Linked DNA regions of Homo sapiens: all the other regions are linked to region 1. The links are contacts of gene promoters, found by promoter capture Hi-C in blood cells and fetal thymus (Javierre and others, 2016). All regions are on one chromosome and are shown on one strand. Each heading gives the region's core, a stretch centred on a gene start or on the middle of the fragment in contact. The rest is flanking DNA. Distances are from core to core; before and after follow the strand shown. Region 1 holds the start of CHIC2 (cysteine rich hydrophobic domain 2). Region 2 overlaps CEP135 (centrosomal protein 135). Region 3 holds the start of EXOC1 (exocyst complex component 1). Region 4 holds the start of CLOCK (clock circadian regulator). Region 5 overlaps USP46 (ubiquitin specific peptidase 46). Region 6 has its middle 12 kb from the start of ERVMER34-1. Region 7 has its middle 9.0 kb from the start of RASL11B.

Evidence for each region. The method cuts DNA at HindIII sites, captures the fragments that hold promoters and counts their contacts. A CHiCAGO score of 5 or more calls a contact.
Region 2: a contact is called between a fragment that was not itself captured here and the fragment with the promoter of CHIC2 in region 1, in 3 of 17 cell types (non-activated CD4 T cells, naive CD8 T cells and total CD8 T cells). The highest score is 7.5, in non-activated CD4 T cells.
Region 3: a contact is called between a fragment that was not itself captured here and the fragment with the promoter of CHIC2 in region 1, in 3 of 17 cell types (total CD8 T cells, naive CD8 T cells and total CD4 T cells). The highest score is 12.6, in total CD8 T cells.
Region 4: a contact is called between a fragment that was not itself captured here and the fragment with the promoter of CHIC2 in region 1, in 1 of 17 cell types (fetal thymus). The highest score is 5.3, in fetal thymus.
Region 5: a contact is called between a fragment that was not itself captured here and the fragment with the promoter of CHIC2 in region 1, in 1 of 17 cell types (total B cells). The highest score is 6.1, in total B cells.
Region 6: a fragment that was not itself captured here is called in contact with the fragment with the promoter of CHIC2 in region 1 in 1 of 17 cell types (naive CD8 T cells); the score reaches 5.0 in naive CD8 T cells.
Region 7: a fragment that was not itself captured here is called in contact with the fragment with the promoter of CHIC2 in region 1 in 1 of 17 cell types (fetal thymus); the score reaches 5.2 in fetal thymus.

What each region holds. Positions count from the first base shown.
Region 1 is chr4:54,062,671-54,066,505 of GRCh38, reverse strand. CHIC2 (cysteine rich hydrophobic domain 2) reads left to right here and starts at 1,901. Exons shown (of 6, transcript NM_012110.4): 1 at 1,901-2,324. The coding sequence starts at 2,206. RefSeq lists silencers at 1,594-1,833, 2,064-2,193 and an enhancer at 1,993-2,493. The HindIII fragment of the contact is 3,181 bases long and covers 1-3,077 here.
Region 2 is chr4:55,950,367-55,954,201 of GRCh38, reverse strand. CEP135 (centrosomal protein 135) reads right to left here. Exons shown (of 26, transcript NM_025009.5): 2 at 1,959-2,116; 3 at 927-1,117. The coding sequence starts at 2,071. LOC124900705 (a long non-coding RNA gene) reads left to right here. Exons shown (of 3, transcript XR_007058124.1): 3 at 1,731-1,811. Among named protein-coding and RNA genes, the nearest start is that of CEP135, 3.3 kb to the right of the region's middle. The HindIII fragment of the contact is 504 bases long and covers 1,840-2,343 here.
Region 3 is chr4:55,850,105-55,853,939 of GRCh38, reverse strand. It overlaps EXOC1 (exocyst complex component 1), which reads right to left and starts at 292. Exons shown (of 19, transcript NM_001024924.2): 1 at 1-292. RefSeq lists a silencer at 401-500. The HindIII fragment of the contact is 455 bases long and covers 1,660-2,114 here.
Region 4 is chr4:55,543,179-55,547,013 of GRCh38, reverse strand. CLOCK (clock circadian regulator) reads left to right here and starts at 105. Exons shown (of 23, transcript NM_004898.4): 1 at 105-232. LOC124900704 (a long non-coding RNA gene) reads right to left here and starts at 1,149. Exons shown (of 2, transcript XR_007058122.1): 1 at 404-1,149. RefSeq lists silencers at 1-199, 260-359, 480-1,109. The HindIII fragment of the contact is 293 bases long and covers 1,744-2,036 here.
Region 5 is chr4:52,645,980-52,649,814 of GRCh38, reverse strand. All of the region lies in intron 1 of USP46 (ubiquitin specific peptidase 46), which reads left to right. Among named protein-coding and RNA genes, the nearest start is that of USP46, 11 kb to the left of the region's middle. The HindIII fragment of the contact is 980 bases long and covers 1,200-2,179 here.
Region 6 is chr4:52,737,979-52,741,813 of GRCh38, reverse strand. No RefSeq gene overlaps it. Among named protein-coding and RNA genes, the nearest start is that of ERVMER34-1, 12 kb to the left of the region's middle. The HindIII fragment of the contact is 1,069 bases long and covers 1,454-2,522 here.
Region 7 is chr4:52,851,403-52,855,237 of GRCh38, reverse strand. No RefSeq gene overlaps it. Among named protein-coding and RNA genes, the nearest start is that of RASL11B, 9.0 kb to the left of the region's middle. The HindIII fragment of the contact is 1,496 bases long and covers 858-2,353 here.

The DNA.
Region 1 (3,835 bases), core at 652-3,151:
AAACATAGCATATCTGAAAATAAATACACCCTCTTTGCTTACCTCACAGGTTCTTGGGGGAATATTAAATGATATATTATGTACGTGCTTTATAAGCAGTAAAATATTACATAATGCTGTGGTAACCCTCACAGGGTTGATAAGCTAGGGAGCCTTAAGCATCACCTATTACCCCGTATTTATTGTGTACTGGGCCTTCTTCTAGGCACTTCACCGATCTTAAGCCCTTGAATCTGCTGAGCATCCCAATGGGGCAGGTACTGAACAGGGAAGTTAAGTGGCTTGTCTAGGGTCACACAGTAAGTGGCAGAGCTGACATTCAAGGCCAGGTAGTCAGGTTCCAGAACACACATTGTTAAACACCAGACCAAGCTGCCTCCTGTGTGCCCCACTGACACTTCCTGTGTCCTCCTCCATGAGCCCCTGGCAGAGATGACAATTGCTTGCCTTAACAATAGATAAGCTACCAGAAGTCAGGGCCTGTGCCTCATTCACACACGTCCACAGTGCCTGCCACATAGCTAGAGTTCAGTAGATATTTGTTGAATGAACAAATACCCTCCAGGGAGGGATACAATAAGTCTGATACAACTACTGTATTTTTCCTTCATTTTTTCTTGGCTAACCACACTCATTTCCTTCAGTTGTTTCCAAAAGGAGGTTGGCATCTCTCACTGTCCTCATTGACCTCCTTTGCACTTTCTCCACGTCAACAGTGACCCATCTAAAGCCGACTACTGTGACATGAACACTGCACTTGAAGAGCCTGACCAGCGCTGGGCTCAGTAGAACTATCCTTTCTTCTCCCATGGTGTATCCTCACTGTCCAGGACTCTCTTCTCAGAAGCCCACTCCTTCCCCTGTGCTGTTTATATGCTTAATGAAACCAAGTACCCAAAGTGACCGTTCAACTGTTACTAGGCAGCTAAGTAGACTCCATTAAACCTTTTCCTTCCTTCCTCCCCTTCTTTCTTTCTCTCCCATTCTTCTTTCATTCTTCTCGTCCTTCCTTCTATCCTTTCTTCCTTCCTGCCTCCTTTTCTTCCTCTCCTCTGCCCTTTCTTTCAGGTCTTTTTTGTGGTAGGAACTGGTAAGAAAAGGAAAGGAATTCCCTAAGATTTTAAGGAAACAACAACAAAAACCAGGTTATGTTTGGTGAGAGAGTTGGGGCAAGAAACTGCATCTTCTAATATGGAATCCAGGTAATTTATCAGTTTTTTTTCATAGCATGACTACGGTGAGATTTCTTGTAAGAAAAAAAAAAAAATACCAGCATCGCTGGCCTCATATATTGGATTATACTTAAGGGGATCAAGGGATAAGATGTTTGAATTTGGAGATGTCTTGAAAAATCCTGTGGTGAGCACAAATGTTTGCAGTGTCTCTGCTGGACTCCTCAAATTGGGAAAAAAGAGACTCTGGTTCTCATCATAGACTCAAAACCTGAGGAAAAGCGAGATGCGATTATTAGATAAACTGGCAATGACACGCACAAAAATGTGTCTATTCCAGCCAGGGCTTTTCTTTTCAGTTGTTTGTTTTGGTTAGAGATGACTTTGGGGAACTGCATGTCCCACTGGACATTCCAAGCTGCGTTGTCGGAGTCGCGGGTCGCGGCCTCCAGTCAGCGGAGCCGCCGCCCCCAGGGTCCGCCACCCAGAAGTCGGCGGAGGGGGGCCCGCCGGCGGGAGCGCGCGCCCCGGTCGCCGTCTGCGGGTAGAAGCAGAGGAAAGACGGTGGCCTGGGAGCGCGCGAGGCCGCACGTGCGCGCGCCCGCCCGCCCGCCAGCCAGTCCGCTCGCCCACGCGCCCACGCACGCGCCCGCCCGCCCGTTGGCCCGGGAAGTCTCGCGATGCCGTAGCCGGCTGCTCCCGCTGCGGGTGGCTCGGGCTGTTGCTGTGGTTTCCTGAGTTGCTGCTGCTGCGGCGGCGGCAGCGGCGTCTGTGCTTGTGGAGGTGTCGGCCTCTGGGCGGATGTTGACATTGTGTTGTTGTTATTGCTGATGGTAATGGCGGCGGCGGTGGCGGCGACGGTCCAGACCCCATCCCCTCTGTAGCCGGAGCCGAGACAGCCGACAGCGAACTCCGCGGCCTCGGAGCCGGCGGCAGCGGCGACTCCCCTCAGCCTCCGCCGCCTCGCCCGCCGGTACCCCGGCGCCAACCCCGGGAGTCAGGCCCTTTGGGCAGGGGAGCTCGGAGGCTCAGGATGGCGGATTTCGACGAAATCTATGAGGAAGAGGAGGACGAGGAGCGGGCCCTGGAGGAGCAGCTGCTCAAGTACTCGCCGGACCCGGTGGTCGTCCGCGGCTCCGGTCACGTCACCGTGTAAGGCCCGGAGGAGGGCGAGGGCGGGAGGTGCGGGCTGGGGTGGGCCCCGTTACTCCACGGGAGCCCCGTTTCCCCTGTGTCCGTCTGGTGTCGGGGGCCTTCCGAAAGAGTAGGCAACCAGGAAGTGAGAACTTGGCTTATTTTCATTTGTTTGGGTCTCCGAAGTGGGGACGGACGCTGTCCTTCCTCCTCCACACACCCCTTTAGCAGGCCCTACAGGCCCGGGCGATGTGACGATCCCAGTAGGCACGGGTTTTCATTAGGGTCTGCCCTGCGGGCCACCCTTCCTCTTCAGGGTGGAAGTACGTGTATTGACAGGGAGCCTCCTTGTTTTCTCGCCCAGTTACCCTGTGGTTGTCTGTGCCTTTGCACCCAGTGACATGGCTCAGAGGCCAGATCTGGGCCGTGTGAGACCCCAGTGACAATTGGCAGCGAAGCTCCGTTTCGTGTCTATTTCACACATACCCACAGGTCTCCCAGTTTTTCCACTAATTTCCGCAGAACTAATGCAAGTTCTTGTAATTGTACGTGATAAAAATATATAGTTGAACACAAATTTAAGATATACAGAAAGAAATATGTTTACAACAACAACAACAACAACTACGTGAGGGACATACACTCTGCTCAGGTTACTGAGGGAAAATTGTAGTCCTGAAGCTCCTCCTTGGGGCACGAACTTGGGGCTTGTTAATTTGGAAAGTCCCACTAGTAACATTAAAAGTCTGATATTAATAAGGAATGAAAGCTTTCGGAAAGACCATGACAAAGGAATGTGAAGCCTTGAACCAAATAATGAGCTGTCCGGAAGCAGGAAGTTTTGTAATGTTTCACTATGAAGTCCACAGTTTTGTACCACTTGATGTATTACATTGATACTCTCTCATTTTAGATCTCTTGTTCAAATAATAGATCAGACTTCCATACTTGTCAGGTATCTCTGTACTTCTTCACCTTTTCAGTGAAACAAAAGAGCCAGCAAGTCTGAGAATGTCTGGAATAGTCTTCATTATATTTTGGTGAAGAGTGAGTGGGATGTGCTGTGAATAACTTAGGGAAACAGTAAGACTTCTCATATAAGTTTGTCAGCAAAATAATTGCATTTCTCGTATGACCAGCCATATTGTTGTTTGAGTATGCTTATGTAATGCTTTAATTTCTTTAGTACCTGTTAGTTTATGTTCAGGTGACTTAACAGGGTAAAAACACTGCATAATTGCCATCACAGCACCATGACAAGACAGTGGAATTTAATTCACCACAATAATACTTTCTAAGTGTTGTCACCAGCTTAAGAAGTATAACCAAATATCATGGATATTAAACTTTTAACATATATCACAGAATTCATAACCTGCCATTTGATTTTATTTTGACTTTTAGGACCTTTTTGCACTGTTTTAAGCCTAAGGAGTATGTGGATGCTTAAAGAAGTGATTTCCAAACTTTGTCATGCCATCTATCCCTCCTTCTACATTCCTCATGTCAAAGAAAAGCTAGAGAATTTT
Region 2 (3,835 bases), core at 842-3,341, 1.9 Mb before region 1:
GATTCAAAGACCGTTTTAAAGATCAAGAAATCCAATGAAGTTTTTCCATTTCACAAAATACAAAAAGTCATATCAATTTAAAAGTCTCCACCTGCTTCTTATGCATGCTTTAGTTGACACTTATTCCTTCTTCTACTATTATTAACAAAACTGCAAATAACTCACTAAGCACAAAAGAGAATCTTCATTTTTCAGCTACTGTATTAGCCTAACGTACATCATAGCTTTTGATCCAGTAAATTGGGTCTGAAGCTAAAGGATTATGAATTCATACCATGGATTAGATAAAGTTTTCTACTGAATATAAGAATAATTCATACAAAGATAACCATATAATTATCTTTTCCCTAGTACCTTTGAAATCATCCTATTCTACTTGACAGCTCAAAGACTGACTATAAAACAGTCAGCATGATACATGGTTTTCACCTTATTTACTACTTTTATTTTCAGTAAGGGAAAAACAAAAGTTGTTTCAAGAACATTTCTTCAAATCCAGCATTTAATATTCCCTATGGCAATTTTAATTCTAAAATTTTAATTAAATTTTTAATTCTAAAAATTTAATCCACATATAGTGATTATCATAGCTATATAATGCACATTTATTTTCCTTCTCAGGAACTCTTCAACATACCCTATAGTATTTCAGGGGCTATTAGCAGAAGGAGTACCATATTTTCTTTTCTTTTCTTTTTTTTTGAAACAAGTTCTCACTATGTTGCCTAGGCTGGTCTCAAACTCCTGGGCTCAAGCAATCCTCCCACCTTAAACTCCCGAGTAGCTGGGACTATAGGCACACACCATCCAGCTGTAGGACTACTATATTTTCTAATCAATAGTTTTAAAATTAGACGTTAGCTTTTCCTTCTAAAATAAAAAGGACAAAGACATTGCATTTTAAAAATTATCAAATTTTCACTTACCTTTAACGTGTTGGTCTGAATGTTCTCTCAGTTTCATTAACTCTAGGTATAATTCATTATTTTCTCTACTCAATCTTGCATTTTCAAGTTTATAGGGTTCCAAAACAAAATCAAAATTGGCACTTTCTTTTTCAGCTTTCACAGCAGATAATTTTGATTGCCGAAGGCTCTCAGTTGTATGAACTAAGTCGCTAAAAGAACAGAAAATTTAAATACCAGGAAATATTTCATTAACTTTCTAATAACTAAAAACATATTTCTAAAGAGGCTTAAAATACAGTCATGCACCACATGATGACATTTTGGTCAACGACAGACCACATATAGGAAGGAGAGTAGTCCTGTAAGATTTATAATGGGGGCAGCTGAAAAATTCCTATTGCCTCATGAGATCTGGCCATTGTAACACTGTAGCACAACACAATACCTTTTCTATGTTTAGATATGTTCAGATATACAAATAGGCACCACTGTGTTAACAATTACCTACAGTATTCAGTATAGTAACATGCTATACAGGTTTGTAGCCTAGGAGCCATAGGATACAGACCATATAGCCTAGGTTTGTGGTAGGCGACACCATCTAGGTTTGTGTAAGCACACCCTATGATGTTGGTACAACGAAAAAATCACCTAATGATGACATGTTTCTCAGAACGTATCCCTGTCATGAAACTATCCATGACTGTATTTGAAGACCAGTGAAGCAGACATAGAACTTAAGGGGGGGAAAAAAAAAGAACTTAAGGGAAAAGTGTCTCTCAATTATATCAGAAACCCAAAAAACTGTAATTCCATTCACAGAGAAAACCCCCAGAAATGTTGACTTTGAACAGTACAGCGTGAGTGGTGGCCTTTAGAGTTCTGCCGTGTGGAAGGCCTGGATTGAGGACAGGGAAAAAACAGATAAGCTTCATGATTGAAAGCCTTTCCGGAAAGCTACCCTTTTCTTTACCAAAGCATGAAGTTCAATCAGAAATGAGGTAAGTGGTTAGGGATCATAAAGGTTGAAAACTGTATTTTTGTCTTTACCTGAAAAGTTTTTCTACCAAAGGTAAACACTCCACTGTCAGAGTCTGGCGGTATCCCAGCTGATCCAGCCTTTTCCTAATATTAATATACTTTCTCTCTACAGCTGTAGTCATCTCGTCTTCTAAAACAAGTTTTATTCACTTCCAAAAATTAAAGTCCTGAGAGAAAAGAATGAAACATCATTATCTTATTATAGCTATGATTGTTGTTTCACAATAAGAAGAAAAAATTATTTTAATATGAAGCAATTATTTTTTGTTTTTCTTCAGGTAGGTAGCCTTCTGGAAAATTCAGATTTAAAGCCAATGCTTATGATATTCCTGTTACTGCATTAAAATAAATACTTCCTCATACAACTAAATGTAAAAGTTAAAATCCTAAAGCTTCTAGGAGAAAACAAAGATTTTTCCTAAGCCTGAAGTAGGCAGAGACTTCTCAGAGAGGCCTCTTTTAAAAGCACTAAACATAAAAGATAAATTTGATAAATTGGACTTCATCAAAATTTAAAATGTCTGCTCATCAAAATACTCAATTAAAATAGAGAAGGCAAACCAAAGAGTGGGAGAAAATATTCACAATATCTGACAAAGGATTTGTATAGGGAATATAAAAGGAATTCTTACAACTCAATAATAAGACAAACATCCCAATAAGAACATTAATTTGGGCTAAAACTGTAATTTAGTTGCGCTAAAGATTCGAACAGACACCTCGCATAGGTGTCTGAATGGGAATGATGATATGAAATGGTGCTCAACAGTAGTCAACATGGAAATACAAATTAAAACAACAAGGTACATTTTCTCCCAAACTAGAATGACTAAAATTACAAGGACCGACAATAGCAAATGTCGACAAAGATCTGGAGCAACTGGAATCTTCACACATTGCTGACAGGAATGTAAAATCACTTTGGAAAAAGTCTGGCAGTTTTTTTATAAAGTTAAACATACTTCTGGACTATAACCCTGTGATTTTATTCCCAGGTATTTATAGAAATAAAAAATATTCACAAAAATACTCTACAAGAATGTTCACAGCTTTACTCATAGTAGCCCCAAACTGGAAACAACCTAAACCCCCATCAACAGCAGAAGGGGTAAAGTATGATATATTTATACAGTGCAATACTAAGGGATAAAAGGAACTACTGATACACATCAACAGCATGGATGAATCTCAAAAACATTATTTGAGCAAAAGAAACCAGACAAATACTGTATGACTCCATTTACATGAAGTTGATGAACAAGTAAAATTAAAACTATGGGGCCAGAAATTAAAACAAGAGTTGTCTGGGGAGGTGAGGCGGGCTGCAGATTGCCCGTTAAGAGTTAAGACACAACTTTTTAGGGTAATGAAAATATTACATTGATTGGGGTAGTGGTTACACAAGTGTATACATTTAGAGAATTTACTTTTCAAATAGTACACTTAAACTCTATGCATTTCATCATGTAAATTTCACTTCAATTAAAAAAAAAGACACACATAAGTACCTCTGTTCAAGTTTTTATCTTTGTCTTTTTAAATATTTATGAATATATTCCTATCAATCTGCCCTAAAATGGAGTTATCCAAAGAGCATTTCTTTTTTTTTTTTATTTTAATTGTTACCTTTTTTAGAGACAGGGTCTTGCTATGTGGCCCAGGCTGGTCTCCAACTCCTGAGCTCAAGGTATTCTCCCACCTCTACCTCCCAAAGTGCTAGGTTTACAGGTGTGAGCCAATATGCTCAGCCCAAAGATCATTTCTTTAGAAACTCTGCTCTTTTCTAACCTTTGCTAACTAACTGTAGTCATGGTACTCGTATTTCTAAGCCAAATAAAAATTTTGTTTTACATCTGTTGTTCTTCACAATATATAAAAAATGCATT
Region 3 (3,835 bases), core at 638-3,137, 1.8 Mb before region 1:
AAAGGAAGGTCAGAAGGAGCGGTGCCCGACCCCAGGCGTGGAGACAGCAGCCGGACTGAGGAGCCGCCTTAGACCCTGGTGCCTGTCAGCTCGTCTGTCCGCCGCCGCCGGGACTACCGGGCAGCCGCGGCCGAAGGCTTACCGCAAGGCCGGACTGAGCCTGGCTGTGCCGAGGCGGGTCTTCCAAAACGGAGACCGGATGGGGGCCACTAGGATACGCCCCTCAATAAAGCGTTGAACGGGAAGCGGCCGTTCCCCCAACACTTCCTATATCCGGGCACGTGACAAACTCCGCGCCGGAAGTTGACCGCGTAGAGAAGGAAGAAGCAGCGATGGGAGAAAAAGGGAGCGGCCAATAGACGCGGAGGGGCGGGGCGCCAACCGACGGGCGTGGCCAGGCGGAACAAGGCCTCATTGGAGGGGCGTGTCAGGGAAGGGCAGGGGCGGGGCCTTTGTGGCACAGAAACTGACTTGGGAGTTGGGGATTAAGAGTTATTTATTCAGATATTTGCAGCAATTCATTTAAGAAGAAATTCGATTAAATGTTTTCTTTTTTCATACGTAAAGCTCTATTAACTCTAGATCTTTGCTACTTAAACTTTGGAGAGCTTAAATGAGTTAAATCAGAATCCCTGCGGGTGGGACCCAGACATCAGTACTTTTAATATCTTCCCAGATGATTCTCATATGCAGCTAAGGTCAAGAACCATTGTCCTCATGACCTTGATACTCAAAGTGTGGTCCGTGGATCAGCTGCTTGGGTATCATCTGGGGGCTTTTTAGGAAATGCAGCCTCTCTGGCTCACTTCAGATCTACTGAATCAGAATCTGCATCTTAGCAAGATGATGCTTATGCATATTTAAGTTTGGGATGCATAAATGATGCCAATGTTGCTGGTTGCAGGTAGGTGTTTTATTTATTCAATATTCCTGGCACCTTTTTTTTTTAATGCTAGGCACTTTGATTCCAGGTACAGAGGTGATTCAGGCATGAATCTTAACCTAAAGGAGTTCACAGTGTGGTAGGACTAGACAAGGTGTAGGTACAAATATATATAAAATAGGACACAAAATAAGTGACCAAAGAGAGGTACAGATCAGATAAATGTGCTAGAAATTTAAATGAGCAAACAGTAGTTAGAATACTTTTCACTTTCATCAAATGACTTCCCTTTTAAGAGCAGGATCTGGTTATATCTTTACAAAGACCCTTTCCTGCTTGGCACCGGAATGCTTACTGTGGACACTCTATGACAATTGCATGTGTTTTTTGGTCCTATTATCTTTCTTTTATTTACCTGTATGTTTATAGCCCTCCTCAAAGTTGGGAAATGAATTGCATTTCAGAAGCCTAGATCTCTTTCTTGAACCTCAAGATTTGTGTATATACTGCCCATCGCCTGACATTTCCACTTGGATGTCTTATAGACACCTCAAACTTGTGTGTCCAAAAATTAAATTATCCTCTCTCCTCTTGGATTCCCTGCAAAGTGACACTTATATGCAATAGTTTATTTGGAAATTTGATCCCAGGGAGCAAAATGAGGGAAGAGGAAGAAGACAAAACAAAAAGGGAGATGCAGTATAAGAATGTGTTACTGAGTTGGTCATCACCATATTTGAATGTTTTCTTAGTCCCTTAGGACCTTCTAAGAAGCTTTATGAAATGAGTCTCAGAACTGTCCATTAAAGGAAAGAACGGAGGAAGCATTTGTATGTCGGCTCCTGTCCTCTTTGATCGAAGGTTAATGCCCTTGGGCATTAACTACTTCACACTTACAAATCGCACAGTTGTGAATGCCAAGCTGACTCCCACATCAGAGACATGCTGGGGCAGGAAGTGAGAGGAGAGGTGCTGGTATTTCGCACTTGTTCAAAGGTCATCAAACCTGCTCCGAGCAGGTTGCTGCAGCAGTGGTTAGAATAATAGGCTGAAGGGATTTGAAGTCATGGCCTAAGTTGCACAGAAGGACATAGAAGGTGTCCATATCTTGCAGCACTCTGATCTGCCTGTGTGCTCTGTTATGTTCAGTCCTTCACAGAGGTCTCTTCAAGGTGATGGCCAGCCACAATCTCAGCAAAGCCTTAATATAAGAGAGTTAATAGAATAAGCTTCAGTTTTTACTGCTGCATCAATGTCAGGACCATACTTGTATTAACTCCCTCTTCCACTACCCATTCTAATTTTCCCTCACCATTGACCAGCACATCAGCTGGTCTAAGTTGTTTCTCTGGTGAAATAGCCCCCACCTTCAGCCTTTATTTTCCTTTCTCTGGTTAAGCCATGATTGCTGTAATTACCTGTTCAAATTATCCCTGGGTACAGAAACACCTAGTAAGCCCCAGCGAATTATTTGGATTCCAAATTCCTCCCTAGTGCTATTGTGGAGCAACAATCCTAGATCCTTTTGCTAATCACAGTTGATTACTCCCACGAGCATAGTAACTCCTTTCTTTGCCAGCTTGTCCACTTCCGTAAGAAGCACAAGGTAACTAAGTAAAAGTTTGAAGTGCAATGAATTCCATAGTGTTTATCCTGGTGGCAGCATTCCCCACTCAACTCCTGAAGAACCAATTATTGCAATCTAGCAAATACTAATTTTTTTTTTTTTGAGACAGAGTCTCGCTCTGTCACCCAGGCTGGAGTACACTTACATGATCTCAGCTCACTGCAACCTCCTACCTCCTGGGTTCAAGCAATTCTCATGCCTCAGTCTGCATGGCTTACTACCATGTTGCTTCCAAGTCTTTGCTCAAATGTTACCTCACTGAGGCCTTCCAAGAGAACCCTATGTAAAATAGTTCCCCAACCACCCTCCTCCCAGTATTTTTTATCTTCCTTTTTTACTTTTGTTCTTCATGGTTCTTGCTACATTTTGACATATTGTATATGTTGTTTGTTCATTTGCTGTTTCTCTAGAATGAAGTTTTATGAAAGCAAAGATTTTTATCTGTTTTTTTCAGTGATGTATCTCTGATTCCTGGAACTCAGAATAATATCTAACAATTACATAGCACTTATTATGTGCTATGTACTATTCTAAGCATTTTACATGTATTAATTAACTTAATCATCACAACTACCCTGTGAGGAAGGAATCTTTATTATCCTCATTTTAAAACCAGAAAACTGAGGAACAAATTGTCTAGTCCTAGGACACGTGGTATACCATGGTAGTCTCTCAATGAATATCTTTATGTCATCACAGCCTACTGCATGAAGTAGACTTAAGAAGCAACATGAAATAATGAAAAGTATATCATTACTGGAATTGACACAGGAGTGGGGCAGGGAAGTGCTGGGAAGGGAAGGACGTGGGCCCTGGCTAGGGCTCCACCACTGGGCCTGTGCCCATGGACCTAGGTGAGGACAGGCACTCCTGCCTTCCTGCCCAAATGTTGCATTTTCCAAGACCACCCTGGCCTGCCACACCCCTGCCTTGTGCCTATAAAAACCCTGAGACCCTAGCAGGCAGAGACACAAGCAGCTGGATGTTGAGAAGAACATATTGGCGGAAGAACACACAAGCGGCTGGACGTGCATAGAAGCGTGCCAGGGGAAGAGCACACAACAGATGCAGGCAGGCCATCAACAGGCAGGCCATCCACCGGCAGAATGATGCAGATTTTAGCCCCAGGTGGTCAGGGGAGATCTGGGCTGCTGAGCAGCCCGACTCCAGGGAAAAACCACCTTCCCACTCCATCTGCCTTCTGGCTTCTCCATCTGCTGAGAGCTACTTCCACTCAATAAAATCTTGCACTCATTCTCCAAGCCCTCACGTGGGATCCGATTCTTCCGGTTACACCAAGGCAAGAAACCTCAGGACACAGAAAG
Region 4 (3,835 bases), core at 641-3,140, 1.5 Mb before region 1:
CCTAACGGGGCAAGTCGCATGCGCACCGAGCCGCGCTGGGGAAAGGGAGAGTGAGGGGAGGGGCGAGCGCAGAGCCTCCGCCGGCCGTCTGAGCCCGCGGGGTCGCTGACGACGCATGCGCCGGGAGGGGGCGCAATCACGGACTCGGCTTGCGGCTGCCGGTTTAAAAAAGGAAACCCCGGAGAGCGAGAGCGCGAAGGAAATCTGGCCGCCGCCGCCGCGAGCGCTCCCGGTGAGAGGCGCCCGCCCGGTGGGCCCAGGGCCTGCCGAGTGCCGGTTGGCTTCCTTGGCGGCGCATGCGCGCTCCTGGGCTGGTGGAGGAGGGGAAGGGAAGGGAGGGGGAGGAGGAGCTGGCCACAGGAGCGGCGAATTTTTGGGGGGGTGGGTGGGGGGCGCCACTCACAGCCCCAGGTGCTGCTGGAGGTGGGAGCCGCGGCGCCTCCTGGACACAGGCGGGGTAGTGGTTCCGAGTCACCGCAGCGGGAGACCTGGGTGGGGGAGGGAAGAAGCCGGAGCCGCCGCAAGCCACACGGTGAGGGCGCGGGGAAGGGGAGGGAGCGGGGGGCGGCGTGTGTGGGGCCGGGGGGCGGCGGCCAAGGGTGGGGAAGGCGGGAGCTGAAGCCCAAGTTTGGCGTGTCGTTCTAGTGTGTCTTTTCCCGGGACTTCGGGCCGAGGCCCGCCCTGCCTGAGAGGCCCTCTGGGGCAGCTGGGGTTACCTGCGGGGCAGGGGCGGGAGTGGGGTGCACGGCGGGGCCGGGCGGCTTGAGGGCGCCCGGAGCTGCGGCCGATTCCAGCAGCTGGGAGGCGGGGAAAGACGGGGACCGGGTGCCGAGAGAGCTTTCGCTGGGGACCCGCTAGGCCTTGTGACCCACTTTATTCCTGTCACCACTCGGGCACGTTTGGAGCAGCGCCCAATGGGGCGCCGGGGCGGCCAGCTCCTCCGGGGAACCCCCGCCCTCCCGGCGCCCGGCCCGCGTGCCGCAGTCCGCAGTCCGAACGGCCGCCGTTGCCGGCCGCGGGCTGGTTCCGTTAGTGGTGGTGGTTCCGGGGTTCCGTTCCTAGGCAGCGCGCGGCTATTAGCGTCTGACTCCAGCGACCGCGCGCGGGTTCGAGGGTTGGCGGCGAGGCGCTCGGTTTCTCTTCTTCCGTCCACCCGCGCTTCCCGTTCCCCGTCACCGCCGCTGGCGTTTGTAGATTTCTTTCCGCCAGTGAAGCTGGGTTTTCTGGAGTTGGCTCTGGCGCTCTGGCCCCTGGAGTGTAATTTCCTACACGCAGCGCCGCAGAGTTTATATTCTTTGAAAGTGTTTGTAGCTTTGTAGAGGTCCTCTTGTTGATGGTAGGTGAGCCTAATTCTGCAAGATAAAAGCCTAGTCTCTGACCTGGCAGATGAAAGATCAAATCAGATTGTGGTTTCCTGCTATTAGAATGCCGTGCTATTAGACTTTAAGGCTTTTTAGCCTTCTTTAAAAAATAAAAAAATTTTTACAGTGGAAGAAAAGCACAAGAAGTAAACTTTTACAGTCGTTGATTTGACTATAACGCTGATCCCCCCAAATCAAAGGTAATTTCACTTTGAAGATTGCGTTCTGATTTGTAGCTTTAAGCGATTAGAGAAAATTGTGCAATATTCCCCTCTACCTGTTTGAAAATAAACATTCTTAAAAGGATGTAATTTAGATAATGAATTGCTTTCTCTGAAACTTATCCCTTGGGACACCTCAAATCTGATTGGTTTTCAAAGCTTGGGGGAAGGAAATTAATTCCTGTGATAAGTGGTTGGCTGAACAGAATGTCTTGAAAGGTTAGCCTGTAGCATTAGGAGAAATACCTAATGTAAACGACGAGTTAATGGGTGCAGCACACCAGCGTGGCACATTTATACATATGTGACAAACCTGCACGTTGTGCACATGTACCCTAGAACTTAAAGTATAATAATAAAAAAAGTAAAAAAAAAAAAAGTTAGCCTGAAGAAAGCAGACTGAAAATGTTCTAAAGCTAGGCGTAATCAGTTATGAAAAAAGAATAAGGAAGCTTTCTACGTACTAACATGCAAAGATTGCAAAAATTTGCTATGAAGTGAAAAAAGCAAGGTGTAGCGGTACTTTGTGAATAGTGTGTTACATCTTAAGGGCGAGGTGTAATAATACAAGTTTATGTTTGCTCTTTATATAAAGAAATTATGGGAGGATTTAGAAAACTAACAATAGAGGAGAGGGAGAAATAGTCTGAGGGAATGGTGGGAAATGAGATGTATTATGTGTATGTCTTCATGTTTTCAAATTTTTGTGTGTATTATGGACTCATAAACTGGATTAAACAAAAATCCTCCTCCCCCAAATAATTTGTGTGATTTTTGTTGCCTAATTTATGGTGATTTGAGTCATTTTCAATATGATTGCTTTTCATATTTTTTAGGAAAATCAACTAAAAAGGAAGTTTGGGATACCTTTTATGACTATTTACACTTTAATTTTTAAGATTGCAGAGGTCACAGGCATTTATCTTTTAAAGATGTTTAGTTATATCTTGCCTTGCTAAAATATATGACTGTTTACATTTGGCATTATGGCTGGATTATGCTGCTTTCAGAGTGTAGTTTGTGTTTCCCCCTCCTCTTTTTTTCAGGAGTCATAGATGGGTAAAATTTTACTTAACCCCAAAGTTTCATGACAAACAATTATGAGGAGGATGTGAACATTCCCTTAAAGTGCTAGTAAACTTGATTGTCTAGGTTAGTTTGCTTTTCAGGTTGGGAAACTTTTCTTTCTTTTGAGGAAATCAAACATGAACCCCAGTGAAAGGTAAATTGGGGTGTGTGTGTGTGTGTGTGTGTGTGTGTGTGTGTCTGGTTGTTTCTCATGAAAGTGTACAAAATGAACATTTTTTTAGGACTGGATTGTTGAAAACCTGTTTAATGAGGTTAAGACTGCACAGGCAGCTGTTAGATGAGATATAATTTTGGGAGGGGACCCTCAAACTCCCCCTGGTGACTAATATTGTGTAATGAAAGTAGTGAATAGTGAGTAATGGATTGCAGTTGCTGTGGGCATTTTTGTAATATTACCAGTATTCCTTTTTATTTTGTAGGATAGGATACTTATATTATTTCTGTTTGATATGTAGGTTTTTCTAATAGACTTCTGCAAAGTGTCACTTATTTTTCATTTGAATTCCATGTGGGTCCGTTCAATCTTTTTTAAAAATGGAATTACATTTCAATTTTTTTTTTTTTTGGAGACGGAGTCTTGCTCTGTCACCAGGCCGGAGTGCAGTGGCACGATCTTGGCTCACTGCAACCTCCGGCTCCCAGGTTCAAGAGATTCTCCTGCCTCAGCCTCCCGAGTAGCTGGGACTCTTATTTTTAAAATTACAGAAGTAAATTGATGCTCATAAAAAGTTAATACAGTGTATATATAATAAGTGACAACCCCTTTACATCCACTTCTAGCTCACATTCCTCCCCAGAGGAATCTAGGGAGCACAGCTACTCGTATACCCTTGACTGAAGGGTAACACTGTTAACACCACTGTATGATCTTGTAGATCTTTTTCTGTGCATTTGCAAATATGTTCTTTTCAGCCTTGAAAACGGAATCATCTTGAATGATCATCTGCTTTGCCATTTTGCCTCCAGTATGGGCTCTGTTATTACCTACAGGACAGGGACATGACTTGGAGCCTGTCAGAAAGCTTAACATCTGATATAGACCATAGGTCATACTCATCTTTTCACTAGTGAGGGGCCAATTGTTATGGAGGCATTTGCAGAGTTTGAAGGGAGGTCATACTGATGTGAGTTTTATCTGGTATAGATTTAATTCACTGTAAACTT
Region 5 (3,835 bases), core at 440-2,939, 1.4 Mb after region 1:
AGGAACTGTATTTATTTGTATTATTCAGTGTTGATTTCCCAGCTGTCAGCACAGTGCCTAGCACATATGTGGTTGGTGCTCAATAAATAAATATTGATAAATGAATGAAGGGATGTAATTTGGTAGAATGGAAGAATTGCCTTGGAGTAAAGCAGTATGCCTCCAATTTTATCATGCATAGGCATTAGCTGGAGGTCTAGTTGAAATGTCAATTTGGATTCAGCACGTCTGGGGCAGGGCGGAGATTTTGCACTTCTAACAAACTCTCTGGTGGTACAGATAATGCTGGTTTCGGGACCATTTTTAGAGCAGCAAGGCTTTGGGAAAAACAAAACAACTTCTATTTTCCATATAGTTGTAAAGTGGAGGAGTTTGGAATTCAGAATCCTGTTTGGTAAATCTCAGATCCTATTTATCTTTTTACAACAAAGGTAGTCAATGAAATACCTTCTTTAAAGCTTTTTGGGGAGCATCAGAAGAGATCCTGCCCATGGAAGCACTGTGTGAGCTATGATGCCTTCATGCTTGTTAGTTTTCATAATTATTCTCACTCTTTTAGTTCATCATTATTTTCCTTCTGTTTGCTCAAAGTGCAAAGCTGTTGGTATTTCAGGATCCAGTGAAATTCTACTTCCATTTTGACCTGCTGTCCACATTTAGTGGGGCACTTTGGGAGGAGTGACATTGGGGAAGGAAGTTGGCAAAAGCAGAGGCCAAATTCACAGCATGGTTTGGTTCTGACTGGGTGCTGTGGTGGTGAGGGGGCCCTGTGGCCCTGTTTCTGTGGTATTGGGAGACACGGGTAGAGAGAGGCCCACAGGACTCTTCTAATCATTGCTGTAGTGGATGACAGGACAACAGGAAACTGTCTAATTGGGTTCCCAAGTCAGATACTTTTCAAAGAGAAAAGAATGCTCAGAGTAATTATAAAATATTAATTGATCTGTAGGTGTAATCTGAGCTATTCAGGGCAAACTAGAGGTAGGTCCCTCTAAGGTTAAGCTACCATAGGACACTCCTATTTAAATGCAGAGTTTCAGTATGCTTCAGGAACTGGGTTTCCCTGCCTCATGAATCAGAGGGTAATGTAGTAATGGAGAGAAGGCAAATACAAATAAATAAATAAAAAATAACATTCAGAACGAATGCATATTGTATGGTTGGCAGTGTAGGGGTGGATAACCTATTATTTCCAAGCTTTTCTTACTCTAGAGAAAAACTGTGGGATGGATCCAGTTGCTTAGGTCAGTGATACTCAAATGTCAGTTTGTCATCATTGTTCATGGTTTTTGCTACATCTGTGTATCACTTGAACTTATTTACTTAGTTTTCCTTAAATCTGTTCACCCTAATTTGACCTTATTCTGAAACATCTGCAAAATGATGGGTTTGATGAGCTAATTTTATGCTTTTCTAATCCTTTTCAAAAACATTATTGCTACACTTAAAACTGTTCATACTGGTGCCACCTAAGAGTAACTCCCCTCCCTCCAGGATTCATGGCCCATAGTTTGGGTGACATTGGCTCAGATAAGAGGTTTTTTGTAGTGGCTCAAATAATCGGCTCTTGGAGGAGCACCATTTGTTGAACTACTTTGTAGATGATGGTCTGGTCGGTGAGCTTCCTTGGGAGGCAAGTGAGCACATGGCTGAGATATGGTTGGACTTTCTACACCACTGTTGATTGGGTATGAGAGCTTGATGTTCTCTACCCTTGTAAAGACATGCTTCTTATCCATAGCCTGTGGGTGATGAGAGAACTTACCTTCCTGGGTCATTGTGGGGCTTAAGCAGAGAGATTGATGTCTAGTGCTTAGCCTGTTGCCTGGGCATTGCATTACCACTTTCTTCCAGTGCCCTTCTTATTTCCATTAGTGAAAGAGTCCACCAAACACTGTAGTAGACAGAGCCCTGAGCTAGGACTCAGAAATCCCAGGCTCTGATTGCTTTCCAGCTTTAGCGGTGTTGGGCAGGTCACTGAGGCCTCTCTGGGTCTATAAAATAAGAACCACTCCTGCTGGTGAGCAGTGGCAAGAAGACGAGCATGTGTGTTATAAACCAGCTATGGTTTTCAGTCAAGGAGAACTAGGGAAGGGCTGCAGGACAAAAGGAGGAAGAAGCTATGATTTCTGACAAAAATGCCATTGGAAGACACATGCTGGTGGTGTGTGGCCAAGCTTTTGTTGTCACTAGTCAAGATACAATGTTTTTCCTTTTCCTGAGAATGAGAGCACATTCTGTAGTAAAAGATATGTTGTCTTTGAATGAGCTTATACCACACTCTTTTGTGTCATTTGGCACACACAGCCTTCCTAACTGAGAAATACATGAAGTAGCTAAGCGCAGTTTCTTTTCTAAATTTTTAAGTAAAGTGTCTGAATAGGTACTATGAGTTTATGTGGCAGAAATTTCAAAATGTGCACAAGGTTGTATGTTGAAAATAGACCCAGTGTCCAATTCTTATCTCTGGCATCTATCAATAGTTATAGTTTCTTATGCTTCCATTTAGAGTTATATGCATATACAAGCAACTGTGTTTATATTTCTCTCTTAGTTTTTAAAAACACAAAGAGTACATAGAGTATACCCTGATCTGTCCTGATCTGCCCCTTGCTGTTTGTGTCTTGTAGGAGGGTCTGTGGGAAGAGCCACCTCATTCTTTTTTTATGGCTGCAGAGTATTCACTTGCTTGAGTCTACTGAATTCACTGAACCAGGCCCTCACTGACTAGCAGGACATGTTGTAGGTAGTTTTCTAGTCTTCGGTTTTTACAAACAAGGCTGTAAGGAACAACTTTGTCCATATGTGGGAGTATATCTGTGGACCGACTTCCTAAAAATGGATTTGCATTTGTAACTGGGATGGATTTTGCCAAATTGCCCTCCATCAGCAATATGTGTGACTCTGGCTGCCTGCAGCCTTGCCAAAGCAGTGTGCTACCCAGAAACCTTTTGATCTTTGCCAGTCAGGGGAAAGATGGTGTCTTAGTATATTTGTAGTTTGCATTTCTCTTATTAGAAGTGAGCTTCAGCAGCTATTCACATATTTAGGAAAATAAACTCAATTTTATTTAAATACCTTGCTGTTGGTAATTATTTTCAGAGTCTGTAGGGAAGGACCAGTTTTATTGTTATTTTCAATCTGTCTCAGACCAATATATTTGTAAAATACAATAAAAAGGAATAACTAGCAAAATGGAATTAAAAAAACCCAAAGAGAAATAAAATGCAAGCCTTAATTTTTTTGTTACTAAACTTGACAGATACAAAATTACTCTATCCATTCATTTTATCTCCATGTTTTTAGTTTCTGGATGTAGCTCACCACAGAGAGTTTTGAGTAAATAACATTGCTGTAAAGAACAACTTACTCATGTTTTTTCTCCCATTGCTACTCTATTTGAGGATGGGAGGAGAGAGCCCAGAATTTTATATTTTACATTTCATAATCAGCACATTTCAGGATGGTTTTGTTACATTAGTGGAAAATATCTCTGATGGTGCAATACTGACCCAGGAGGGACTGGTTCCCGAGGGCCGGGTTGCCGCACAAGTGCATTGAGGCATGTTGACTCCTGCAGTGCTCCCCATGCTGTAAGGTGGGAATGCAGGTGTTGTGATTTTCACTGATGAAGACCTTGAGCTTGGATGAGAAGATGGGAGGATGAAATCACCCTATTAATAAAATTTACAGAGCAGGCCTATATTAGTCCATTCTCACAGTGCTATAAAGAACTACCTGAGACTGGGTAATTTATGAAGAAAAGAGGTTTAATTGACTCACAGTTCCAAAGGCTTAACAGGAAGCATGACTGGGAGGCTTCAGGAAACTTAAA
Region 6 (3,835 bases), core at 739-3,238, 1.3 Mb after region 1:
TAAAGAAAAGAAAACTCATACTCTGGAACAATAGAACCCTTATAGATGGGTTTGTTGTTCATAGTAATGTTGATATCAAAAGAAGGTAGGCTGGGTGCAGTGGCTTATGCCTGTAATCCCAGCACTATGGGAAGCCAAGGCAGGCAGATGACCTGAGGTCAGGAGTTGGAGACCAGCCTGACCAACGAGGAGAAACCCCATCTCTACTAAAAAAAAAAAAAAAAAAAAAATACAAAATTAGCCAGGCCTGGTGGTGCATGTCTGTAATCCCAGCTACTCGGGAGGCTGAGGCAAGAGAATCACTTGAACCCACTAGGCGGAGATTGTGGTGAGCCAAGATCATGCCATTGCACTCCAGCCTAGGCAACAAGAGCGAAACTCTGTTTCAAAAAAAAACCCCAAAAAGCACAAAACACACACACACACACACACAAAAGAAGGTAATAAAAACTTTCAGCAATATAGGACACAAGAGAAAGCCTCCTTGAGCTGAAAGATATAGGACTTCCTGTGTTTGTTATGCAATATGCATTGAAACTAGAGAAGCCATTAAAAGAAATGCAACTTTCAGTATTGGGTATTTGTGGTACTTGGTTTTCTTTCTTTCTTTCTTTCTTTCTTTCTTTCTTTCTTTCTTTCTTTCTTTCTTTCTTTCTTTCCTTTCCTTTCCTTTCTTTCTCTCTCTCTCTCTTTCTTTCTTTCCTTACTTTCTTTCTTTCTCTCTCTCTTTCTCTCTTTCTCTCATTCCTTCTTTCTTTCTTTCCTTTTTTTTTGACGGAGTTTCACTCATGTTGCCCAGGCTGGAGTGCAGTGGCACAATCTCAGCTCATCGCAACCTCTGCCTGCTGGGTTCAAGTGATCCTCCTGCCTCAGCCTCCTGAGTAGCAGGGATTACAGGCACGCACCACCATGCCCACCTAATTTTTTGTATTTTTAGTACAGACAGGGTTTCTCCATGCTGGTCAGGCTGGTCTCGAACTCCCAACCTCAGGTGATCCGCCCGCCTTGGCCTCCCAAAGTGCTGGGATTACAGGTGTGAGCCACCGCACCTGGCCTGGTCCTCATTTCACAATGTCAAGTACGAATACAAAGTGAAGAGGAAATATGAAATAAAGGGGCAGTCATTGGAATGTTAGAAAATGTCTTATTAAAAGGATAAAGTTTCATCAAATAGCATGACTGATTATGAGGTGTGTTAAGCTGCACAATATTTGATTAAAGTAAGGTTTGTAGGGCATGACAAGTTATAGAAAATAGTTTCAACATTACTGGTGATGGACACAAAGGTATTTCTGATTTTCAAAACTCATAGGGGAAAAAAATCCTCTTTCCATTGTTATGCATCAGAAGGAACACAAAATAGGTTGGTTGGCAAAAACATTTATTAGCCAGCTCAAAGGTTCACCAGATGTTTCACCTTCCTATTTCCTGATACATTTATTAATTAGAAGCTTACTTAAGGAAAATTGTTATCCAATATTTTTTATCAGTGTGGACTCATGGATATATACATTGTTCTTTGGGTTGTAATCCAGTACTATCATACTGTTGCTCAAAGTGTTGCAGCTTTGGCCTTTGAGAGCTCTTGGAAAATTTGTTCCTGTTTCCTTTTGACATGCCTCTCCCTATGTGTTTTTTGTTTGTTTGGCCTTATTTTTTTTTTTTCAGCACTTCCTTACTCTCCAGCGCTCCAATATGCTGCAAGCTCATCTTTTATTTTTCCTGCCCAGCCCTAGAATCAGTGATTTTTTTTTCCCAAGAAACCATTGTTCCCTGTACTGAAAAATGGTTTTAGAAACCAAGATCTGGGCACAAGATGTGCTCATTGCTACTGCTACTAGGTTATCACTGTGTAGGCCCCCTCAGTGGACACAGCTAGGAAATGTTTGTATGTATACACAGATACCTATACATATATACCTACAGTTTATTGAAATAAACGAGTTTATACTGATATCTCCAACTCTCAGCACCACAGGATTCATTCTAGCCTCACCTTACCCCTTGCTTATTTGTAACTTTTCTGTTGCTGAGAAACCTGTCTCCTATTAGCTAAGATTTATTTGCTTATTTGTTAAACTCTACTATATGTGTAAACTAGTTACATAACATAGTTACATAATTGCTAACCTGTCCCTTTATGAGAAACAAAGTAACCAATTAGAATACAGCGTTTGCTTTTTTGTCTTTGGCTTTGCAGTATTCAGTCAAGACATCGTTTTCAAAAGTTAAATCGTCTCCTCAATTTATATATAGGTATATACACATATGTGTATATATATTCACTTCTTTAAAAGTTAACCCATCATTATTGGCATCTAGAGAATCTACATACAAAGTACAAGCAACAAGAAAATGCTAAATTCACTTAAATCATGAAAAGTAATTGGGCTAGGCTCCTCATACAATTCTAATGATAGTTACACAGATGGACTACTGAAGAACAAATACTTTTTATTCTTTTGATTGTTATCTATGACTTTATACAAGATATATGTTTTTTAATTTCTCCACAGAAAGCTTCAGAAGATGAGTATTTAAATGTAGCCATCTTAACCAGCAATCAGTACTACCACAAGGAATATTTCAGGGGTGGCAACAACCCTGTGATAATCCTGCAGCATGGGTCGATTTGCTTTCAAAACCTAGAGGTGTACAAAGTCAAAGGTGAAGAAAATGTGCATTTGCTGTTAAGAAAATATTATGATATACAGTAATTACAACTGTGAGGGAATATATGCAATAAAAATAATTGTTTGGGAGGAAATGTGGATGATTTTTTTTTCTGTTTTCCAAACGAAAGCCTTAGGACATAACACTTTTTGAGTGAGATCTTTGTGGTGACATAATAATTCTATATCTGAGTTGTGATGGTTCCATGAATTTACACATGACAAAATGACACAGAATGATGTAATATTGGCACACACAGCTCAATGTCAATTTTCTAGTTTTGTTTTTGTGCTATAGTGACTTCCACTTGGGAGAATTTGGGTGAAGGCTACGTGGAATCTCTCTGCACTGTTTTTTTTTAAATATATAATTCAGAGTAAAAAGCTTTAAAAAGTAATAGTATTTTACATCCTCAAATTAAACAGATGTGTAAATATATACATATATAGTTTATGTATGTTAAACCTAGTTGCCTTTTTTAATGAGTTTTTTTTCTGTATTAAACTATCCTTCAGAAAGGTTGAAGCAAATGTACCATGTATAATAGGATATTTAAAATTTCATTTTCATTGGCAGAGTAATTTCACAGGAAATGTATCTTAAGGAAATACTCTGCCCTTTCATACCTTCTGTCTTCCTAATAATTTCTACAAAGATATTCAAAAAACCCTTTTGCCAAATAAATGGTCTATAAACTTCTTAACACATCGTGCAGTGCCAGTCTTAATGGTTGGCCACTCCCTCTTTCCAAACACCTTCCCTGAATCACAGTGTGATGCTTAATTTTTGTGTCAACTTTACTGGGCTACAGAGCACCTAGATATTTGATTAAACAGTATTCTGAGTGTTTCTGTAGAAGTGTTTTGGGACGAAATTAACACTTAAATGGGAATACCGAGTAAAGCAGATTTATCTGCCTAATGTGAGTGGGCCTTATCCAATCAGCTGAAGGCCTAAAGAGAATAAGAGGGCTGACCCTCCCCTGAGGAAGAGAATTCTTCCTGCTTGACTGCCTGTGAATTTGACCTTTCCCCCTTGCCTTCAGCTCTTTCTGGGTCTCAAGCCTACCAGCCCTTAAACAGGAACTACACAATTGGCTCTCTTGAGTCTCCAGCAATGATTCCCAAATCTGTATCTCAAACCTGGATTTCACTACTCAACT
Region 7 (3,835 bases), core at 356-2,855, 1.2 Mb after region 1:
TGTAATATATTAAAGAAAGATAAAATAAAAGGTTAAATTAGTTCTTTTTCATTTAAGTTAAAATCTGAGATTTTCTTCTCCTCTCAATGATTTGAATCTTAATAGCCTCAGTCATTTTTATGGGAACATAGAACACCTATTTGATAAGCAATCTCATGACAATAGGTCAGAATAAATTCAAATATTAAATAGTCCATGAAACAACTGGTAAATATCCACTGTTTTAATTGGAAATAGGAAAAGTCTCAGTGCCCATTTTCACAAAGCCTTTGGAACATTGAATGACCCTACAAACGGACATTACTACATTATTAATAAAGCCATTGATAGAAGTTCCCTCAGTTAAATGTAAGGTCTAATAATATTGCAAATAGACAGTGGCAATGTTCTTTGGGATCATTCTCTTCTCCAGTGGGAAGAATCTTACAAGAATATCCCTCTGCCTCTTCTCCTTCTAACTCGTTATTTGTTCAGAAGATAAAAGAGCAAAAGAAATGAGCATTGGCCTTGGCCTCACAGGACCGAGTACTCTTGGGATACTTGACAAGATTTTGTGATCAGAAGATATGCACAAGCAGGAAAAGTTCAGAAAGATTCAGACGAATGGGCCAATTGTTTAACAGACCTCTTTGGGTTCAAATTCTTAAGTAGATTAGACATACCTCATATTTGCCTCTAACTGCCCCTAGAGTGCAGAAAGGGCTACCTAAGGACATTTTAGGCGTCCTTGTTTGTCTTCGCATAGAAGGCAGTATCCTCTCCCCAAAGCATCAGCTCCTTAGCATAATGTACTAAGACCTAAAGGAAATCAAAGCTTTTCAAAAATATCCATCCATGATATGGGGAAAGAACAAGCTTCATATCCCCCCATACCTCAAGTCACCTGGAAAGTGAGAATTTAAGTCTTGTCTGGGGCCACACTGGTTCTCATTGCTTTATCGGGCTCAAAAATCAGGGTAACCATCAAATACTTTCTAAACTCTAATTAGTGACACCGTCTCCAGCCATTCAATAGTGTCTAAAATATCACAAGTCACAGTATGAACGATCGAAGTTGAGCCCCAAGTTAGCAGAGGTATTTAAGTTACATAGTTGATGAAAATGCAAATGGAGACTGATCATCTCTTAAACAAGTATGAAATTCAGTCACCACCAAGGAACTTTTCTTTTTTTTTTGAGATGAAGCCTTGCTGTGTCACCCAGGCTGGAGTGCAATGGTGTGATCTTGGCTCGCTGCAACCTCCGCCTCCTGAGTTCAAGCAATTCTCCTGACTCAGCCTCCCGAGTAGCTGGGACTACAGGCAAGTGCCATCACGCCCGGCTAATTTTTGTATTTTTTAGTAGAGACAGGGTTTCACCGTGTTGGCCAGGCTGGTCTTGAACTCCTGACCTCAGGTGATCCACCTGCCTCAGCCTCCCAAAGTGCTGGGATTACAGGCGTGAGCTACCGTGCCTGGCCAAGAAACATTTTTACTGTAACAGTAGTCTGTGAACACTTAGGATTTTCACCAAGATATATGCATTGTTAATGCTTTTTCCTTCTAATTAAAAAAGAAAATGGATAACAGATGAGGAAAATTTGATGTGATGGTTTTTAGGAAATGCACAAATGACTCATGCACTCACTTGATTTGACAAGGGTACTGGTTTCTATATAAAGAAACAACTTAGGCCCAAAATAGAAGTTGTGCACAGCAGATTGTAACTGATAGAGGAACTGCACATTCCAAGCATCAGTAGTGTGAAGGCTGGTATGCTGGGACATCTCTGCTGAGAATGTTGTGTGAAGTCCATAATTAATTATTATTAATTCAGCTGGAATGTAAAGCTATCTGCTCCAAAGTGTTGCAAGATAGAAAAGCTCTAGTGTCATTTGAGATGATTTTAACTAACTCTAAAAGCAAAAAACAACAACAACAAAATATTGTTTTGCAAAGTATGTGTACCCCCATGCTAACTGGGAAATATATTCAGCTCAATGACAAGTAAACTACAACAGGTTTTGTGCCGTACAATATGTTGAATGCCCAACAAAATTTGTCATATAAAATAGCCTGGTAAATTATAAAAGTTTAATACTTTGATATGTTCATAATGAAAGTGAAACAAAGAGCTCTTTTTCCAGCCTGGATTGTCCTTTAATTAGTGGTTGGGAGGTAGCACTTTCATAAACTTGTCAAATCTTCTCCCAAATTCCTCATTACCTGGACTTAGATGAGGAGATAGGCAGAAAGACCACGCTGAAGCCTTTCTTATATTCATTTGCCAAAATACACAGTACAGCCAAGAGCCAAGGCATTCCTCTGCTCTCTATCCCCAGGCAAGAGATGGAATGATTCCTCTTGGACAAGCTTGCACACTGTGTTATCAACTTCAGACCTACTGTGATTTTAGGGCAGAAGACAGCAGCCTTGCCTGCCAAGCCCCACAACCTTGTAGAGAACAATATCCAGACTGTAGTCCTGTCCAGCGCAGGCTCCAGAAGTTTCTCAGCAAACCAGTGAAGCAATACGACCCTTAGCAGCTCTTCCCCCACCACTATGAAATAGTTCGACCCATAAGGAGAGCCCTTTGAAGTAATGACCGACCTCCCTCTCTCTTCCTCCATCCTTTCTCTCCAGTTCACATGCAGGCCCAGCGCTGCCTGGAGGCTTGGTTCAAGCTTGTATTTTTCGCCATTTGACATGCTGCATTATTTGGTGGGCTGTTTATTGTCCAACTCTCCACACTAGAGTGTAAGCTCTGTAAGGGTAGAGATTTTGTTTTGCTCACTGCTCTATCCCCAGAACCTAGAGTGCTTAACACACAGCACATGCTAGCACTTAATGGGTATTTGTAAATGAATGAATGAATGAATCTGTGCATTTTGTATGCAATGAGAAAGGAGGCAGTGGGAAGAGCCTGAGGAAGCTGGAATTGTGGAAGTGGATGGGGGAGCCGGGGCTGGAGTGGGGAGGGAGTGATGGGGATGAGATCACAGAAGCAGAGGCTGGCTTTGGAGATGAGGCAAGCTCTCAGGATGCTCCAGATGTAGGCTTAATCTTGGCTCACTTTTCCACTGGCACCAGTGGAAAGATGAAAGGGAAGGGCTTGAAGGGTGAGGTGACTGTGAAGAGGAGAGGATGGAGAGGGTGAGAGGATGCTGCTGTGGCCCACTCAGGTCTCAAGGAAGTAGAATTTAGGTCATTGGCCCAGAACAGAGTGAGAGGCAAGACTAGGAATGGCAGGCTGGTGGTGGGGAAGTCAGAGGGAGAGCAGGACAGGCAGGCGACATCCACTGAAAATGCTTTGGCAAGAGCCAAAGGACCAGCTGAAAAGAGAAAACAGGAGTTTGGAGGGTGTGATTTGGGCAGCAGCATTCTCTATGGGGAAGGAGAGGCAAAGCGGGGTGGGGAGGCATCTCAGAGAGCCAAGAAAGTGAGTTTATCTGGAATTTTGGTGAATGGCTGATTCTGGAATCCAAGTGGGAAGTGAATCAGGGATGTCCATCAGGAGCCTATAATGGTGAATAATTCTGGAGCCTTCCTGTAGGCCAGGCACTGTGCTGCACACCAAGTGTCTAGTGGCACAGCATCTCATACCAAGAGTGGCTGTGAAAGGACACATGTATTTGACTGTACAAGGGCAAGGACTGTGCGATTTTTTTCTACTTCTTTATTCTCTGCACCTAGCATGTGGCTGGTATATATTAAGCACTCAGTAAATAGTTGCTGAATAAAATTAATGAGCAAGAGCAGGTTCTATGCAAGAACTGGCAGATACGGTTTTCTTTCTCTTTTTTTTTCTTTCTTTCTTTCTTTTTTTTTTTTTTTTTTTGATGGAGTCTTACCCTATC